2 separate regions of the Homo sapiens genome follow, and region 1 is linked to region 2. Evidence: promoter capture Hi-C in human tissues and cell types (Jung and others, 2019). All regions are on one chromosome and are shown on one strand. Each heading gives the region's core, a stretch centred on a gene start or on the middle of the fragment in contact. The rest is flanking DNA. Distances are from core to core; before and after follow the strand shown. Region 1 has its middle 70 kb from the start of CUX1. Region 2 holds the start of MYL10 (myosin light chain 10).

Region 1 (3,196 bases), core at 463-2,962, 120 kb before region 2:
AAGGATAGAGAACTGTACACACTCAACAATCCCTTGGCTGAGCACAGTGGTTCCCGCCTGTAATCCCAGCACTTTGGGAGGCTAAGGCGGGAAGATCACCTGAGGTCTACCTGGCCAACATGGTGAAACCCCATCTCTATTTTTTTTTTTGAGACAGAGTCTCGCTCTGTCGCCCAGGCTGGAGTGCAGTGGCGCGATATCGGCTCACTGCAAGCTCTGCCTCCCTGGTTCACGCCATTCTTCTGCCTCAGCCTCCCGAGTAGCTGGGACTGCAGGCACCCGCCACCACACCCAGCTAATATTTTTTTGTATTTTTAGTAGAGACAGGGTTTCATCATGTTAGCCAGGATGGTCTTGATCTCCTGACCTCGTGATCCACCCACCTCGGCCTCCCAAAGTGCTGGGATTACAGGCATGAGCCACTGTGCCCAGCCCCCCATCTCTATTAAATATACAAAAAAAAAAAAAAAAAAAAATAGCCAGGCATGGTGGTGGGCACCTGTAATCCCAGCTACTTGGGAGGCTGAGGAGGAGAATCGCTCGAACCCGGGAGGCGGATGTTGCAGTGAGCTGAGATCGCGAGACTGCACTCCAGCCTGGGCAACAAGAGCAAAAATCCGTTTCAAAAAAAAAAAAAAAAAAAAAAAAAACCAATTCCTTGCTATGGCTTTCCAGAGTCAGGGTGAAGTTCCAGAGACCCAGGCACCTGGGCTGGAACCCCAGCCGTGCCAGGTACCCCTGGTGATCTAGGGCACATCCATTTGCCCTCCCCCCACCCGAGCCTCAGTTTCCCCATCTGTAAAGCAAAGGCAATGCATTCCTTCACTTTCTAGTTCTCAGGGGTTGCTGTGGGTGGTGAGACAGGGCCCACGAAGGTTTGCGGTGCGGGGTGGGACGCAGTAGGACCCTCATGGGGTGACTGGTGAGTACAATTGGCCATCCTTTCTCTCCAGCCTCCGTGGGGAGGTCGCCTTGACTCGCAGACTTGGCTTTGCTCCATCTGTGCACGGCTCTCTTCCCTGGAGCCTGAGTGGAATGTTTTCTCTTCCCTCCTCCTCCTCCTCCTCCTCCTCTTCCTGTGACCGTCTGTGGGATGCCTCCAGTGTCCTGGGGTCCCCCGGAGGCGGCCCGAACCCTCTCCCCGCCCAGCGCGGCCCCTCGGCCCACCAGGCTGTTTCCAATTTGAACACCATGCATCTTGTCTCTGAGATCACAGCCGCCTCTTTGATGGAACTAATGATGATCTAGGACTTTGGGGGCCCCAGACCTCCCCAAACTGAGATAAATCCTGCCTCTGTGCAGACAAGGGGCCTCCAGCCCGGCATCTGATCCCCCTCCTCCGGGCTGGACAGGGAGGGGAGGTGTCTGTGGGAGTCCCCTCCCGGCAGGCTGGGAGGGTGGTGGCTGAGTCCAGGGAGACAGGAAGAAAGGGATTTCTCTGAGGCTCCAAAGAGGGTCCCACAACCCGGTGGGGGAGGGTGGCAAGCTTGTGAAAGGGCCTCTTAGAAGGCGGTCTGATCCCATCACAACCCAGGACACAGCTGGAGCAGAAGGCAACTTACACAGGCCAGCCTGCTTCTCAGACTCAGTGCCACTAACTGTTCCTGGCACCTTGCTTGCACCGCTGGGGACGCAGGGAGGAATGACTCTAGTTTCTGCCGCCAGGAGCTCGTGATGAGGGAGAGGGATGGGTAAACCAATGACTCCAATATTGCGTATTGAGGACTGCAATGGTGAGGACCCCAGGGGCTGTGGGAGCACGGCAGATAGGACCTGACGCAGCCTGTAGAGCCTGGAAGGCTTCCTGGAGGAGGTAGCCCTGATCTGGGTCTTGCGCAGGTCCCACAATGAGCAGATGATGTGCCCTGTCCATACAGAATAAACAATAAAAAATGATACTAAACCCTATCAAGCTTGCCCAACCTGCCTTGTTTGGCTGTTGTTGTTCTGTTCTGTTTTAGGCTTTTAGCAGCCTGAAACCATGGTTTTTAGTTTCTGTCTCTAGTGACAAGCGGAAAAGAGGGATGAGGAAGGGGATTTACTGACCCAACCAGAAACAGAAACTAAGAGCCTGTGACTGTATTCTCTCCCTTGGACACCCCTGAAACCATGAAACTTACACATATGCTGAAATTAAAATACCTTCTTTCTAGATTTTCTGATCGGAAAATTTTGGATCCGTTCATCAAAGAAGCTTTATTTTATTATTATTATTATTAATTTTTGAGACTGAATCATGGTCTGTTGCACAGGCTGGAGTGCAGTGGTACGATCTCAGCTCACTGCAACCTCTGCTTCCCAGGTTCAAGTGATTCTCCTGCCTCAAGCTCCCGAGTGGCTGGGATTACAGGTGCCCGCCACCAGGCCTGGCTAATTTTTGTATTTTTAGTAGAGACAGGGTTTTACCACGTTGGCCATGCTGGTCTCGAATTCCTGACCTCAGGTGATCTGCCCTCCTCAGCCTCCCAAAGTGCTGGGATGACAGGCATGAGCCACCACACCCAGTCTATTATTATTAATATTTAGAGATGGGATCTCTGTCAACCAGGCTGGAGTGCAGCAGTGTGTGATCATAGCTCACTGCAGCCTCGAACTCCTGGCCTTAAGCGATCCTCCTGCTTCAGCCTCCCAAAGTGCTGGGATTTTAGGTGCATGCCACCATGCACTTAGCCCATTTTAAGTTTTTAAAGAAATGTGAGTTGGACTCTGGTGAGCAGCAGAAGGTGGAGGAAGAGGAAGTGAAAGGTGAAGGAGGCAGAGGAGGAGCATTGAGTGCTGGGAAGGAGGAGGCACTGGCTGGGGGCTTGCCCTGTCTAAGGAGGGGCGTCCTCCAGGAAAATCAGACTGTTCTGTCATTCATGATCTGTCCTCCAACCTCTAGGAGCATCGCCCCCACCCCTTCCATAGCCGGGGGCCTGGCTCAGAAGCACAAGGTGCTCAGAGATACCAGTGAACCCCAGGGTAACAGTCGGAGTGGGCTTCCTGGAAGGGTCTGGAAGGACACTGACTTATCACCTCATAGCGGCTCCTCACTCTTCACAAGATAAAACTAGACTTTAGAGGGCAACTGTGGTGTGGCTCACACCTGTAATCCCAGCACTTTGGGAGGCCGAGGGCCTCTTGAGGCCAGGAGTCCAGGACCAGCCTGGGCAAACATAGTGAGAACCCATCTCTAAAAAACAATTTAAAAATGAGC
Region 2 (3,056 bases), core at 542-3,041:
ATTTCTCAGATGGGGAAAACTGAGGGTCCCACTGTGGGTGCAGAACTCACGGCTCCCCCTTCTCAAGGCCACTGCACCCTCACACTTCCCGCCCCCCAGGAACAAACATCTCCCAACCATCTCACCCCGGGGTTTTCACGTCTCTACCAGATTTCTCACCGGTTCTTCCTGCCTCCGGTCCTATGAAGGAGGAGGCCAGGGGAGGAAATCCACTCAGACTAATTTGTAAGCCCGGTGTGATTCACCAGCGCCGCTTCCCCTCCTCCGGGCAGGCGGGGGGGCTCTCCGCTTGCTCAGGCCTGTCCCCGGCCTTTGGGAGCCCCTGCCACGGTCCTGGGCGTGCTCCCCGGAGGCAAGAGCCCTTGCTTGCAGAGGCCTCAGGGCAGCAGGAAGCCAGAGGCAGGAAGCAGGAGTTATAGGTCTGCTACCCACTCTGTAAGCCCAGAGCCAGGAGGCCCCAGGGCCAGGCTCACAGACCGGGCATGGAAAGCCTGCACCCTAGCCACTGTCGCGGTCACACAGGCCCCCTTCTGTAGCAGGTCCAGGCGGCTGGGACTGGAATCCAGGCTCCCGTCCCCAGAGCTGGGTTCTCCTTTCCGCCTGGCTTGTTGAACACCTGTGGAACGTGTGGTTTTTCTCCCCGGAGAGGAACGCCAGGACACCAGGAGAGCAGCCCTGTCGGGGAAACTGAGGCACACGGTTTCCTGCTGCAGAAAGCGGGCTGCACAGCATCATGGCTGGACCTGGCCCCAGCTCTGGGAGGAGCACTCAGTCACAGGAGTTTAGGGACATCAGAAATAGCTGTAGTCAGGGATGACTGGGAGGGAGCAGGAGGAGGGGAGAGTTTGGATGAGCAGAACCTTTTGGAAGCTTCCTTCTGGAAACACTAGAAAGAGGGGCTCTTGTCCTGGCCCTCCCTCTCTCTCTCTCTTTTTTTTTTTTTTTTTTTTTGTTTTAGAAATGAGACCTTGATCTGTTGTCCAGGCTGGAGTGCAGTGGTGCAATCACAGCTCATTGAAGCCTCAACCTCCTGGGCTCATGTGATCCTCCCACCTCAGCCTCCTAAGTAGCTGGGCCTGCAGGCATGTGCCACTGATACAGGAGGGGGGACAGGGAAGTGCTGAGAGGAGAAAGGCAGGGTCCCTGGCAAGGGCTCCACCCTTGGGCCTGTGCCCACGGACCTAGGTGAGGACAGGCACTCCTGTTTATATGCCCAAATGTCACATTTTCCAAGACCACCCTGGCCCACCACGCCCCCCGCCCCCCCGCCCATCCTGTGCCTATGAAAACCCTGAGACCCCAGTGGGTACACACACAGGTGGCTGGACATCAAGAGGAGCAGAGGATCGGAAGAGCACACCGACAGCACTGGCAGATGCTGGCAGGCCATCGACTGGCTGAATAACACAAATGCCCAGGGGAATTTGGCTGGGGATGGTCAGAGGAGAGTCTGGCTGCTGAGCACCTTGACTTCAGGGGAAAAATCACCTTCCCACTCCATCCCCCTTCTGGCTCCCCATCATCTGCTGAGAGCTACTTCCACCACTCAATAAAACCTCGCACTCATTCTCCAAGCCCACATGTGATTCAATTTTCACAGTACACCAAGGCAAGAACCCCAGGATACAAAAAGCCCTTTGTCCTTGCAATAAGGCAGAGGGTCTAACTGAGCTGATGAACACAAGCCACCTACAGATGGCAAAAGTAAAAGAGCATCCTGTAACACACGCCCACTGGGGCTTCAGGAGCTGTAAGCATCCACCCCTAGACACTGCCGTGGGGTCGGAGCCCCATAGCCTGCCTGTCTGCATGGTCCGCCTAGAGGTTTGAGCAGCTGGGCATGGAAGAAGCGAGCCACACCCCCATCGCATGCCCTATGAACGGGATAAGGGAACTTTTTCACTTCACCACTATGCCTGACTAATTTTTTAATTAAAAAAAATTTTTTTGTAGAAACAGAGTTTCACCATGTTGCTTAGGCTGGTCTCAAACTCCTGGCCTCAAGTGATCCTCCCTCCTCGGCCTCCCAAAGTGCTGGGATTACAGGTATGAGCCACTGTGCCTGGCCTCTGGCCCCACTTCTTATCTGCCTTGGGTGAGTGACTTAACCCATGCGTGCCTCAGTTTCCTCATCTGGAAAATGGGATATGGATTGAATGTGAGGACACGTGTTTTAAGACATGGCCTGACCTTCTGTGTTGTATATTAGCTGCTCTTCTTATTATTATTATGATATTCCCTTCCCCAAAGGCAGGGGATCAGCTGTACCCGGGGCTGAAGGCCTGAGGCCAGCTCCAGGGACAGTTAAGCTCTCCAGCCCCTGGGGACCCGTGGGCTCACTGCCTGAACCCAGCACTGCCGGCCCTGGCAGCTGTTCAGATATGGCGGGCCCCAGATGGACAGTGGCAGCCTCTGAGGCCGAGCTGGGGCTGCTGGGGCTGCACTAGACACAGGAGGGGCTTTCCAGGGCAGGTGTGGGCTCTGTTTGGCAGATCTACTAGAGAATTCTTGGGCTGGGCCAGGCCTGGTGGGGATGGATGTGTGTGTGTGAGGCCAGGGTGGAATGGAGGTCTCATTTTTCAGTTCTTCCTCATCAGAGTCACCTCCAGTTTTCTGTTTTCTTTTTTTTAAGAGACAATATCTCACTCTGTCGCCCAGGCTGGAGTGCAGTGGCACAATCATAGATCACTGCAGCCTCAAACTCCTGGACTCAAGCAATCCTCCTGCCTCAGCCTCCTGAGTAGGTGGGACTACAAGAGCACACCACCATGCTCGGCTAATTTTTTTGATATTTTGTAGAGATAGGGGTCTCACTATGTTGCCCAGGCTGGTCTTGAACTCCTGGCCTGAAGCGATCCTTCCCTCTTGGCCTCCGAAAGCTCTGGGATTACAGGCGTGAGCCACTGCGCCCACCCCATTTTTCTTTTATTTGTCCTGTTGCTTTCTCTGTTCATTGAGCATTTCAGTGCCCTGAGGGGGTCCCCTGGCCTGGGGGTGCTTAATGGACACCCTGATAATAGGCATATTGGTAGAAGGGGCCCCCGAGGGCCAGGTTG

What was found. The method cuts DNA at HindIII sites, captures the fragments that hold promoters and counts their contacts. A contact is called where the count stands out against the background at its distance.
Region 1: a contact is called between a fragment that was not itself captured here and the fragment with the promoter of MYL10 in region 2, in 2 of the 25 tissues and cell types used here (lymphoblastoid cells and spleen).

Annotation. Positions count from the first base shown.
Region 1 is chr7:101,746,066-101,749,261 of GRCh38, reverse strand. No RefSeq gene overlaps it. Among named protein-coding and RNA genes, the nearest start is that of CUX1, 70 kb to the left of the region's middle. The HindIII fragment of the contact is 5,608 bases long and covers 1-3,196 here.
Region 2 is chr7:101,628,031-101,631,086 of GRCh38, reverse strand. It overlaps MYL10 (myosin light chain 10), which reads left to right and starts at 1,791. Exons shown (of 8, transcript NM_138403.5): 1 at 1,791-2,046. The coding sequence starts at 1,969. The HindIII fragment of the contact is 21,528 bases long and covers 416-3,056 here.